Linked DNA regions of Homo sapiens: region 1 is linked to region 2. Evidence: promoter capture Hi-C in human tissues and cell types (Jung and others, 2019). All regions are on one chromosome and are shown on one strand. The core of a region is centred on a gene start or on the middle of the fragment in contact, and the rest is flanking DNA. Distances in the headings are between cores, read along the strand shown. Region 1 has its middle 15 kb from the start of TEX55. Region 2 holds the start of UPK1B (uroplakin 1B).

Region 1 (6,437 bases), core at 944-3,443, 42 kb after region 2:
TTTGACTTCCTCTTTTCCTAATTGAATACCCTTTATTTCTTTCTCCTGCCTGATTGCCTTGGCCAGAACTTCCAACACCATGTTGAAAAGGAGTGGTGAGAGAGGGCATCCTTGTCTTGTGGTGGTTTTCAAAGGGAATGCTTCCAGTTTTTGCCCATTCAGTATGATATTCGCTATGGGTTTGTCATAAATAGCTCTTATTATTTTGAGATGTGTTCCATCAATACCTAGTTTATTGAGAGTTTTTAGCATGAAGGGCTGTTGAGTTTTGTCAAAGGCCTTTTCTGCATCTGTTGAGATAATCATGTGGTTTTGGTTCTGTTTATGTGATGGATTACGTTTATTGATTGGCATATGTTGAATCAGCCTTGCATCCCAGGGGTGAAGCCAACTTGATCATGGTGGATAGACTTTTTGATGTGCTGCTGGATTCGGTTTGCCAGTATTTTATTGAAGATTTTCGCATCGATGTTAATTAGGGATATTGGTCTAAAATTCTCTTTTTGTTGTTGAGTCTCTTCCAGGCTTTTGTAGCAGGATGATGCTGGCCTCATAAAATGAGTTAGGGAGGATCCCCTCTTTTTCTATTGATTGGAATAGTTTCAGAAGGAATGGTACCAGCTCCTCTTTGTACCTCTTTTAGAATTTGGCTGTGAATCCGTCTGGTCCTGGACTTTTTTTGGTTGGTAGGCTATTAATTATTGCCTCAATTTCAGAACCTGTTATTGGTCTATTCAGAGATTCACCTTCTTCCTGGTTTATTCTTGAGAGGGTGCATGTGTCCAGGAATTTATCCATTTCTTCTAGATTTTCTAGTTTATTTGCATAGAGGTGTTTATAGTATTCTCTGAAGGTAGTTTGTATTTCTGTGGGATTGGTGGTAATATCCCCTTTATCATTTTTTATTGCACCCCTATTTGATTCTTCTCTCTTTTCTTCTTTACTAGTCTTGCTAGCGTTCTATCAATTTTGTTGATCTTTTCAAAAAACCAGCTCCTGGATTCATTGATTTTTTGAAGGGTTTTTTTGTGTCTCTATCTCTTTCAGTTCTGCTCTGATCTTAGTAATTTTTTACCTTTTGCTAGCTTTTGAATTTGTTTGCTCTTGCTTCTCTAGTTCTTTTAATTGTGATGTTATGGTGTTGATTTTAGATCTTTACTGCTTTCAGTTGTGGGCATTTAGTGCTATAAATTTCCTTCTACACACTGCTTTAAATGTGTCCCAGAGATTCTGGTATGTTATGTCGTTGTTCTCATTGGTTTCAAAGAACATCTTTATTTCTGCCTTTATTTTGTTATTTACCCAGTAGCCATTCAGGAGAAGGTTGTTCAGTTTCCATGTAGTTGTGTGGTTTTGAGTGAGTTTCTTAGTATTAAGTTTTAATTTGATTGTGCTGTGGTCTGAGAGATAGTTTGTTGTGATTTCCATTTTTTTACATTTGCTGAGGAGTGCTTTACTTCCAAGTATGTGGTCAATTTTAGAGTAAGTGTGATGTGCTGAGAAGAATGTATATTCTATTGATTTGGGGTGGAGAGTTCTGTAGATGTCTATTAGGTCTGCTTGGTGTAGAGCTGAGTTCAAGTCCTGGATATCCTTGTTAACCTGTCTCATTGATCTGTCTACTATTGACAGTGGGATGTTAAAGTCTCCCATTATTATTATGCGGGAGTCTAAGTCTTTTATAGGTCTCTAAGGACTTGCTTTATGAATCTGCGTGCTCCCATATTGGGTGCATATCTATTTAGGATAGTTAGCTCTTACTGTTGAATTGATCCCTTTAATATTACGCAATGGCCTTCTTTGTCCCTTTTCATCTTTGTTGGTTTAAAGTCTGTGTTATCAGAGACTAGGATCGCAACCCCTGCTTTTTTTTTTTTTTTTTTTTTTTTTTTTTGCTTTCTGTTTGCTTGGTAGACCTTCCTCCATCCCTTTATTTTGAGCCTATATGTGTCTCTGCATGTGAGATGGGTCTCCTGAATATAGCACACTGATGGGTCTTGACTCTTTATCCAATTTGCCAGTCTGTGTCTTTTAATTGGAGCATTTAGCCCATTTACATTTAAGGTTAATATTGTTATATGTGAATTTGATCCTGTCATTATGATGTCAGCTGGTTATTTTTTCCATTAATTGATACAGTTTCTTTATAGCATCGATGGTCTTTACAGTTTGGCATGTTTTTGCAGTGGCTGGTACTGGTCATTCCTTTCCATATTTAGTTCTTCCTTCAGGAGCTCTTGTAAGGTAGGCCTGGTGGTGACAAAATCTCTCAGCATTTGCTTGTCTGTAAAGGATTTTATTTCTCCTTCACTTATGAAGCTTAGTTTGGCTGGATATGAAATTCTGGGTTGAAAATTCTTTTCTTCAAGAGTGTTGAATATTGGCCCTCACTCTCTTCTGGCTTGTAGGGTTTTGGCCAAGAGATCTGCTGTTAGTCTGATGGGCTTCCCTTTGTAGGTAACCTGATCTTCCTCTCTGGCTGCCCTTAACCTTTTTCCCTTCATTTCAACCTTGGTGAATCTGACAATTATGTGTCTTGGGGTTAGTCTTCTTGAGGAGTATCTTTGTGGTGTTCTCTGTATTTCCTGAATTTGAATGTTGGCCTGCCTTGCTAGGTTGGGGAAGTTCTCCTAGATAATATCCTGAAGAGTGTTTTCTGACTTGGTTCCATTCTCCCCATCACTTTCAGGTCCACCAGTCAAACGTAGATTTGGTCTTTTCACATAGTCCCATATTTCTTGGAGGCTTTGTTCCCTTCTTTTTACTCTGTTTTCTCTAATCTTGTCTTCTCGCTATTTCATTAATTTGATCTTCAATCACTGATATCCTTTCTTCCACTTGAATGAATCTGCTGTGAAGCTTGTGTACGCATCATGAAGTTCTTGTGCCATGGTTTTCAGCTCTATCAGGTCATTTAAGGTCTTCTCTCCACTGTTTATTCTAGTACCCATTCATCTAACCTTTTTTTCAAGGTTTTTAGCTTCCTTGGGATGGGTTAGAACATCCTCCTTTAGCTCAGATAAATTTGTTATTTACTGATCTTCTGAACCCTACTTCTGTCAACTTGTCAAAGTCATTCTCTGTCCAGCTTTGTTCTGTTGCTGGCAAGGAGCTGCGATCCTTTGGAGGGGAAGAGGCGCTCTTGTGTTCAGAATTTTCAGGTTTTCTGCTCTGATTTCTCTCCATCTTTGTGGTTTTATCTACCTTTGGTCTTTGATGTTGGTGACCTACTGATGAGGTTTTGGTGAGGATTTTTTTGTTGTTGATGTTGATTCTATTCCTTTCTCTTTGTTTTCCTTTTAACAGTCAGATCCCTCAGCTGCAGGTCTGTTGGAGTTTGCTGGGGGTCCACTCCAGGCCGTTCGCCTGGATATTACCAGTGTAGGCTGCAGAACAGCAAATATTGCAGAACAGCAAATATTGCTTCCTGATCCTTCCTCTGGAAGCTTCGTCCCAGAGGGGCACCTGCCTGTATGAGGTGTCTTTTGGCCCCTACTGGGAGGTGTCTCTGAGTTAGGCTACATGTGGGTCAGGGACCCACTTCAGGAGGCAGTCTGTCTGGAGAATCACTGCTCTCTTCAGAGCTGTCAGACAGGGACGTTTAAGTCTGCAGAAGTTGTCTGCTGCCTTTTGTTCAGTTATGCCCTGCCCACAGAGGTGGTGTCTACAGAGGCAGTAGGTCTTGCTGAGCTGTGGTGGGTTCTGCCCAGTTCGAGCTTCCTGACCACTTTGTTTACCTACTCAAGCCTCAGTAATGTGGATGCCCCTCCCCCCGCCAGGCTGCAGCCTTGCAATTCCATCTCAGACTGCTGCGCTAGCAGTGAGCAAGGCTCTGTGGGCATGAGACCTGCCGAGCCAGGCACAGGAGAGAATCTCCTGGTCTGCTCGTTGCTAAGACCATGGGAAAAGTGCAGTATTTGGGCAAGAGTGTACCGATTTTCCAGGTACAGTCTATCATGGATTCCCTTGGCTAGGAAAGGGAAATCTCCCAACCCTTTGCACTTTCTGGGTGAGGCAATGCCCTGCCCTGCTTTGGCTCACCCTCTGTGGGCTGCACCCATTCTCCAACCAGTCCCAGTGAGACGAACCAGGTATCTCAGTTGGAAATGCAGAAATCACCTATCTTCTGCATCAATCATTCTGGGAGCTGCAGACTGGAGCTGTTCCTATTCGGCCATCTTGGAACAGAAACCAGACCTTTCTGTCTTCTTTTTAGTGAAGGTGATTTTCTCTGGTGGTATGATTTAATTTCTTGCTTTAATTTTTTTAATTAAAAAAAATTTTTTTTAAGACAGAGTCTTGGTCTGTTGCCCATACTGGAGTGCAGTGGTGTGATCATGGCTTACTGCAGCGTCGACCTCCTGGACTCAAGCAATCCTCTCACCTCAGCTCCCTGAGTAGCTGGGCCTACAGGCATTTGCCACCACACCTGGCTAATTTTTAAATTCTTTTCAGAGACAGTGTCTCACTATATTTTCCAAGCTGGTCTGGAACTCCTGGGCTCAAATGATCCACCTATCTTGGCCTCCCAAATCATTGAGATTACAGGTATGAGCCATTGTACATGGTTGCTTTTTATTTTTTGTGTATCCATTGTATGTTTTTTGATTTGAGGTTACCATGAGGCTTGCAAATACTATCTTATAATCAGTTATTTTAAGTTTATAGCAACTTAACACTGTTTGAATAAGAAAACAAACAAAAACTAATAAAATCTCTACACCTTAACTTCATCCCCCTGCTTTTTAACTTTTTGTTGTTTCTATTTATATCTTATAGTACTATTTTTTGAAAAATTATTATTTTCAAATGGCTCATATTTTAGTAATGATTTTTGATTTGTTCATCTTTTAGTCTTTCTACATAAGAGTAGTTTACATACCCCAGTTATAGTGTTATAATATTCTGTGTATTTTTCCGTGTACTTACTATCACCAGTGAATTTTATACCTTTAGATGATTTATTTTTCTTTATTTCTTCTAAAAAAGAAACGGGATACATGTATACATGTATGCAGAACGGGCTGGTTTGGTACATAGGTATACGTGTGCCATGGTGGTTTGCTGCACCTATTGACTCATCCTCTAAGTTCTCTCCCCTCACCCCCACCCCACAACAGGCCCTGGTGTTGTTGTTCCCCTCTCTGTGTCCATGTTTTCTCAATGTTCACCTCCCACTTACGAGTGAGAATATGCGGTGTTTGGTTTTCTGTTCCTGCGCTACTTTGCTGAGGATGAGGGCTTTCAGTTTCATCCATGTCCCTGCAAAGGACACGATCTCATTTTTTATGGCTTCATAGTATTCCATAGTGTATATGTCCACATTTTCTTTATCCAGCCTGTCATTGATGGGAATTTGGGTTGGTTCCATGTCCTGGCTATTGTAAATAGTGGTGCAATAAAAATACATGTGCATATGTCTTTATAGTAGAATGATTTATATTCCTTTGGGAATACACCCAGTAATGGGATTGCTGGGTCAAATGGTATTTCTGGTTCTAGATTCTTGAGGAATTGCCATACTCTCTTCCACAATGGTTGAACTAATTTACACTCCTATATATTCAGAATAGTTAGCTTTTCTTGTTGAATTGTTCCCTTTACCATTATGTAATACCCTTCTTTGTCTTTTTTGATCTTTTTTGGTTTAAAATCTGTTTTGTCAGAGACTAGGATTGCAACCCTGCTTTTTTTTTCTTTTTATTTGTTTGGCAAATTTCCCTGCATCCCTTTATTTTGAGCCTGTGTGTGTCTTTGCACATAAGATGCTTCTCCTGAATACAGCACGCCAATGGGTCTTGACTCCTTTTTTGCCAGTCTGTGTCTTTTAATTAGGGCATTTAGCCCAGTTACATTTTCTTTTCCTTCCTTTCTCTCTCTCTCTTTCTCTGTTTCTCTCTCTCTTTCTTTCTTTTCTTTCTTTCTTTCTCACTCTCACCCAGGCTGGAGTGCAGTGTCATGCTCTCAGCTCACTGCAACCTCCACCTCCCAGATTCAAACAATTCTCCTGCCTCAGCCTCCCTAGTAGCTGGACTATAGGCACCTGCCACCACACCCAGCTGATTTTTGTATTTTTAATAGATATAGATTTTCACCATGTTGGCCAGGTTGGTCTCAAACTCCTGACTGCAGGTAATTCACCTGCCTTGGCCTCCCAAAGTGCTGGGATTACAGGTGTGAGTCACTGTGCCCAGTCCCAGTTACATTTGAGGTTAGTATTGTTACGTTTGGAGTTTGATCATGTCATCATGATGCTCTTTGGTTGTTTTGCACACTAGTTGATGCAGTTTCTTCATGTGTCATTAGTTTTTATATTTTGGTGTGTTTTTGCAGTGGCTGGTACCGGCTTTTCCTTTCCATAGTTAATGTTTCTTTCAGGAGCTCTTGCAGGGCAGGCCTGCTGGTAATGAAATCCCTTAGCATTTGCTTGTCTAGAA
Region 2 (7,151 bases), core at 1,225-3,724:
AGAGTAAAGATGGGTGTGGAGATTGTAGGTCACAACAATTGCTGGTCTGCTTCAACTTAAGGTAGGATAAGTCCCTGGAAATAACAAAAAGAGGAGGTTTCTCCCAGGGCTGTCACCCATGGCTCACAGTGCCCATAAGTTTTTCTTGCTTTAAAGCTCTAAACCTGTGTTGACTAATACAGTAGTTAGTAGTTGCATGCAGTTATTTAAAGTCAAAAGAATTCAATTAAATAAAAGTAAAAATCAGTTCCTCAGTTGCTCCAACCACATCTCAAGCACTCCCTAGATACATGTGGTTAGTGTCTATTATCTAGAACATTTCCCTCATCACAGAAAGTTTTACTGGACAGCACTGCTCTTGATTCCTGGTGCTCCCAGTATGATGGGAGTCATCCACCCATTGGAAATCAGGGACTAGCTGTAAGCAATGGCTCAGGAGCACTCAGTTGCACGAGGGCCTCAGGTGTGGGCATTGCCAGAGAGATGCCCAGCTCCAGGGCAGGAGTACTATGGAGAGTCCTTGGGGCGGGGGGGAGGGGGTGGGCAGGCGGGTAGGGCGGTGTGTGATGATGGTGCCCCCTCACCAATGTGGTCTCTGTCCCAGTTGGTGAATGGTGGCCCATCAAGTTTGTGGGCAGCCTGCATGGCTATCAGGCACAAATTCCAGAGCATATTTAAAGGCTGGCTGGTGTTTACTCTGGTTAAGATTGTAAGCAGGAGAAGTCAAAAAGAAGTTCTGAGTTTTGGCCGGGTGCGGTGGCTCAAGCCTGTAATCTCAGCACTTTGGGAGGCTGAGGTGGATGGATCACGAGGTCAGGAGATTGAGACCATCTTGGCTAACACGGTGAAACCCCGTCTCTACTAAAAATACAAAAAATTGGCCGGGCGTGGTGGCAGACACCTGTAGTCCCAGCTACTCGGGAGGCTGAGGCAGGAGAATGGCATCTACCCGGGAGGCAGAGCTTGCAGTGAGCAGAGATCACGCCACTGCACTCCAGCCTGGGCCTCAGAGTGACTCCGTCTCAAAAAAAAAAAAAAAAAAAAAAAAAAAAAAAAAAAGAAAATAAAAGAAAAAAAAAGTTCTGAGTTTCTTTTTTTTCCCCTTGATTAAATGATGTCTAAGGTCCCCTTTGGATGTAAAAGTCTATGATTCTTCCCAGCAGTTAAAAAAAAAAAAAATAGGTGAGTTGATTTTAAAGACTATTTTATAGCAGAAAGCAAAACAATCTGTTGGAGCAGAAAGCAAAGTAAGAAATTTTTCTCCTCACTGAGAAGGTTAATAAAAAGAAAATCCACTTCTTCATAGGGTCTGAAAACTATGTAACCTAAATTTTGTTTATACTCAAAGTATGTATATCTATAAAACCTAATGAGTTCTTTCCTGTTGTGCTTAGCAACTCAGGCAAGAAATGTTCAAGAAACGTTGTCTTTCATTAAAAGAAGACATTCAAGTTAACAAAACTTCTTTAAAAATTTATTTTTATTTTTTTTAGAGACAGGATCTCACTATGTTGCCCAGCCTGGACTAGAACTCCTGATCACGTGGCCTCAGCTTCCCGAATAGCTGGAACTGCAGGCATGTGCCACTGTGACTGGCTACGAATTCTTAAATGGCTTAAAAATCTTTAAAACTAGTTAGAAGTGGAGTTTTAGGTTTATAAACAAATGCAAACATAAAATAATACTAGCATTATTTGAAACTTAAATTTGTATTTTGTGTGAAAATGTGATCAGAATGAAAAATATCTTTATGTCCTGCAGATCATGGTGGAGCAAAGAATTGGTAAGGAGTAAAAACAAATTATGTAAAAATAACATTGCGTAGATAAAGCTACTTTGTTGACTTACTTCAACTGACACATTTATTAAGCAGAAGTGTTTGCAGAGAATAACTGGGAGTAAATTGCTTCACACATTTCATTACAGGTTGGCAGGACCAAATGATTTCTGACAAGAAGACCAAGAAACTTTCTCTCTGCTAGCCTGAACAGATTATTAAGAAATAACACGAGCTATTTCGTTAAACTTTCTATTGCTTTTCTGACTCCACAAGGAAATTGGGGGTCTACAAAGGTGACTGTCTATGTGCGATTTAATCAGGAGATATAGGGTTTCTCGGGGTGCTTGGATTTTCTTGTTCTTTCTGTGGGGATATCTGAGGTTGAAAGCAGGATGGCTGCGTAATATCTCCAGAAGTTTAATGAGAACAAGACTTATATCAAGGGTATTAAGAAAGCAATTCCAACGGTTCAAAGTAAAAGAGAACAGGACAGTCACAATACCCTAAATTACAAAGAAAAAAATGACAGACTTTATGAATCAAGAATCTAACTTCTTCCCCTTTCCCTCCCAGTCTGCTAGCTTCCCTCCCAGGAGAGCAACCCAGCCCTTGAGCCCGGGAGATTCCCTGCAGAGGGAAAGCGGTCTACTCACAGCGCCTCCTCTTTCTGCGCACACGGTAGGGCCCGCTCCGCAGTCTGCACCCGACCCAGGTGCTTTTCTACCCTCCTGCAATTCTTTGAACCTCCAGGACCAGGGAAGGGTAGTCTGTGATTGGCAGGAGGCACCTCACATGGGCTGAGCTTTCCGCTGCCTGCCCTGCCTCGCTGAGGCGGGGGAGTAACCGGAGGCTGTCAGTTGATTTCTGCTGCTTTGGAATGTGTGACTCTGACAGATGGAAGCACCTTGACAGCCACACTCATCGCTTTCCTGGATCCCTCCTAGGTTTGGGCTTTACTGGAATACAAACTCAGGGATTTTATTTTGATTTGATTTGATTTGATTTGTGTAATTTGATCCTTACTCCTGCTTTTGTGTGTTGAAGGCTTGTTAGTCCTGACCGCTCACAGCGATGCTGATATGTGCTTACCTGTGTAGGGCCATGTCCAGTTTTAGTTTCTATAATTTGCATATGCCAAATTCAGAGAGACAGTAATTGCCCAAGTAATGCTCATACTGTAGGTGGCCCAAAGACTGATAAGGAGCAAGAGATGTGGAAAGAAACAGATTGGGAAAAATTCACGGAGAGAGAGGGCTCAAGTGATTATCTGATGTCCAATTCTTCCCTCCCCTCTTCTTCCCTCCCTTTCTCTTCTCTTCCCTTCCCTTCTTTTTTCCTTCTTCCCTGACTTCTGGAGCCATCATGTGTTATACATGGCACCCAGAACATTATTTTAATGGCTGCATAACCTATCATGGTATACATGCGCCATCGCTTGTTTAACCTGAGTTAGGAATCGGTAACTGCAGTAATGTTAGAATTTACTGAGTGCTTTTACCAATAGACTTGGGAGTTCCTCAAAGGTCAGCATCATCTCTGTTGCAGGTTAGGTTGTTCAGGAGCAGACTTTGAGACAAAATTTAGTGTGCAATATATTTATTAGACAGTGCCCTGAGATTAACACCCATGGCAGGGAGAGGGGAGAAACAGGACTGGGCAGAGGAAGAAGTTGAGCTGCAATATAGATGGGACAGTCTTAAGCAGCCCTCCTCAGGAAACTCTGGAGGAAGATGGCCTGTCAGAGTAGCTCTGACACTGGGCTCCTCTATGATCTGCCCTTCAATGTGGATTACCCTGGGAAGGCAGCTTTCTGTAGCTGAGGCAAGTCCTGAAAGGGGCTGATAACTGGAGGCTGGAGGTTGCAAGTACTCCCAGCAGCAGGGCAACCTCCCACTTCAAGGGGGACTGCATGGAGCACCTCTGTGTCCATCACAAGGCCTTATTCCTCTGCAGCTCTTCAGGGCCTTGTTAGATAAATTATCATATTTCACACAATAGAATTCTGTGCAATGGTTAAAAATGACACCACAGATAAACATTTAATGGTATGGAAATAAGTTCAGTCATTTATTTGACAAATATTTATTGAAAACTTAGGATGTGCCAGGCACTCTTCTAGAGGCTGAAAATGAAAAAGCGGTTTACAAAATAGTTTGTGTAATCTGACACATTTTAATTTTTAAGAAAGTTTACCTATGACTTAAAAAGTTAGAAATAGTATACAGCAAACATTAACCAGAATATATCTGAATGGTAAAATATGGGTGACTTTTACAGTCTTCTATTTTTGCAGTTCATATGTTTACAAAGGATCTATATTATAATTATAAGAACGTACAAGTTATTAAAAACATGTGCTGTCCTGGAAATATTTGTGATAAAGTAGCAAGGAAGCAAACAAGGACATGTGAATTTTCATTCATGTCTTAGGCATTTTATGTTCCATTACCATGATTATATGGGGAGAAAACAAAAAGATTTGAAAATCTTCAAAATAGATAATGTGAACACAAACCCAATAACAAGAGACAAGAGACTAGCTAGGAAAAGGAAGATTAGTTTTCAGATAATAACTGCAACTGAATAGTTGAGGAACGTCAAGTCGTTAATGTATGACAGGCTTATTTTTTTCCAGTTAATTTATTTCTAACTCTCTTCTGCTAATCTTCCTTTCTCTCTGGCTAGGTGGCTCCCTTACCCACATCTTAACCTGATTCCAAGCTCATCAGTGAATTCTCATTACTAATATCTCACTTCTGTTAGAAACACTTAGATATTTTCTTCCTATCACCACAATTCAAACTACAGACTCCAGTAGTTTTGGGGAGAAGTTGAGGTCTTTAATAACCCCCCAACTCCCTGTGTATGTTCATTTGAGAGGGAAATGATGTCGTCCTGTGTGAGTGGCCAGAGAGAGGCTCTATCCCTTTCTGTTGGCCATCCCCACTGTCTAGTTCACCACCACCAGCAGCAGTGTAGACAAGGGCAGTGCACAGGGCTGGCCGAGGAGAGCCCTACTGAACCCCACGAGTTCCTAAGCCTCAGAGGGTGCTCTGCCTCATTCATTGGTTTGCAGTCAGTCTTTGTCCTTCAATCTCACCTACCCTCCAGGACCCCAGTTCTCAGGTGGCTGGGTTCTACCTTCTGCACATCTCAGGAACCTAGAACTAAAGGTGGCATGCTTGTCCCCTTCTCTGTCGGGCCATACCACTGCACCATCACCCTCCAAAGCTTTTCCTTCTCTGTGGTAGTTCCAAGGCAAGTTAGCAGGCCTGGTGACTCATGTGATATTTAACTGGGCTAGAAGAATTGGTCCTACATACACACTCAAACTTTTCAGTCCTCATGAGGTTTTCCTCTGTCATCTTCGGGGCAAGGAACCACTGGAATGTTTGTCTTCTCTGCATTCCCTAACAGATCCCTCACTTCAAATTGACTTTCCTATGGCGAGGTAGGGAGTTATAGTGCAAACTGGGTGAGAAAGAGGCTGCCTCCCTACTGGAAGTTCGGAAAGTGGGTTATTTAATGCCTTTTGCTTTCTCTAGTTACCAATTTCAGCAAAAACACTTCTCAAAACATGATGTTGTCTACAATATTTTTAATATATAGTAAAAGTCCCAGGTACTGCCAAATTTACTCTTCACAATATCCCTTTTTTTTATTATTATACTTTAAGTTTTAGGGTGCATGTGTACAACATGCAGGTTTGTTACATATGTATACATGTGCCATGTTGGTGTACTGCACCCATTAACTCGTCATTTAGCATTAGGTATATCTTCTAATGCTATCCCTCCCCCGTCCCCCCACCCCACAACAGTCCCTGGTGTGTGATGTTCCCCTTCCTGTGTCCATGAGTTCTCATTGTTCAATTCCCATCTATGAGTGAGAACATGCAGTGTTTGGTTTTTTGTCCTTGAGATAGTTTGCTGAGAATGATGGTTTCCAGCTTCATCCATTTCCCTGCAAAGGATATGAACTCATCATTTTTTCTGGCTGCATAGTATTCCACGGTGTATATGTGCCACATTTTCTTAATCCAGTCTATCGTTGGACATTTAGGTTGGTTCCAAGTCTTTATTATTGTGAATAGTGCCGCAATAAACATACGTGTGCATGTGTCTTTATAGCAGCATGATTTATAATCCTTTGGGTATATACCCAGTAATGGGATGGCTGGGTCAAATGGTATTTCTAGTTGTAGATCCCTGAGGAATCGCCACACTGACTTCCACAATGGTTGAACTAGTTTACAGTCCCACCAACAGTGTAAAAGTGTTCTTATTTCTCCACATCCTCTCCAGCACCTGTTGTTTCCTGACTTTTTAATGATTGCCATTCTAACTGGTGTGAGATGGTATCTCCTTGTGGTTTTGATTTGCATTTCTCTGATGGCCAGTGATGATGAGCATTTTTTCATGTGTTTTTTGGCTGCATAAATGTCTTCTTTTGGGAAGTGTCTGTTCATATCCTTCACCCACTTTTTGATGGGGTTGTTTGTTTTTTCCTTGTAAATTTGTTTGAGTTCATTGTAGATTCTGGATATTAGCCCTTTGTCAGATGAGTAGGTTGCAAAAATTGTCTCCCATTCTGTAGGTTGCCTGTTCACTCTGATGGTGGTTTCTTTTGCTGTGCAGAAGCTCTTGAATTTAATTAGATCCCATTTGTCAATTTTGGCTTTTGTTGCCATTGCTTTTGGTGTTTTAGACATGAAGTCCTTGCCCATGCCTATGTCCTGAATGGTATTGCCTAGGTTTTCTTCTAGGGTTTTTATGGTTTTAGGTCTAACATTTATGTCTTTAATCCATCTTGAATTAATTTTTCTGTAAGGTGTAAGGAAGGGATCCAGTTTCAGCTTTCTACATATGGCTAGCCAGTTTTCCCAGCACCGTTTATTAAATAGGGAATCCTTTCCCCATTGCTTGTTTTTCTCAGGTTTGTCAAAGATCAGATAGTTGTAGATATGCGGCGTTATTTCTGAGGGCTCTGTTCTGTTCCATTGATCTATATCTCTGTTTTGGTACCAGTACCATGCTGTTTTGGTTACTGTAGCCTTGTAGTATAGTTTGAAGTCAGATAGCGTGATGCCTCCAGCTTTGTCCTTTTGGCTTAGGATTGACTTGGCAATGCGGGCTCTTTTTTGGTTCCATATGAACTTTAAAGTAGTTTTTTCCAATTCTGTGAAGAAAGTCATTGGTAGCTTGATGGGGATGGCATTGAATCTATAAATTACCTTGGGCAGTATGGCCATTTTCATGATATTGATTCTTCCTACCCATGATCATGGAATGTTCTTCCAGTTGTTTGTATCCTCTTTTATTTCATTGAGCAGTGGTTTGTAGTTCTCCTTGAAGAGGTCCTTCATATCCCT

What was found. The method cuts DNA at HindIII sites, captures the fragments that hold promoters and counts their contacts. A contact is called where the count stands out against the background at its distance.
Region 1: a fragment that was not itself captured here is called in contact with the fragment with the promoter of UPK1B in region 2 in 1 of the 25 tissues and cell types used here (pancreas).

Annotation. Positions count from the first base shown.
Region 1 is chr3:119,127,836-119,134,272 of GRCh38, reverse strand. It overlaps a transcript of IGSF11 not described here. Among named protein-coding and RNA genes, the nearest start is that of TEX55, 15 kb to the left of the region's middle. The HindIII fragment of the contact is 5,527 bases long and covers 1-4,956 here.
Region 2 is chr3:119,168,921-119,176,071 of GRCh38, reverse strand. It overlaps UPK1B (uroplakin 1B), which reads right to left and starts at 2,474. Exons shown (of 8, transcript NM_006952.4): 1 at 2,434-2,474. The HindIII fragment of the contact is 12,321 bases long and covers 1-6,407 here.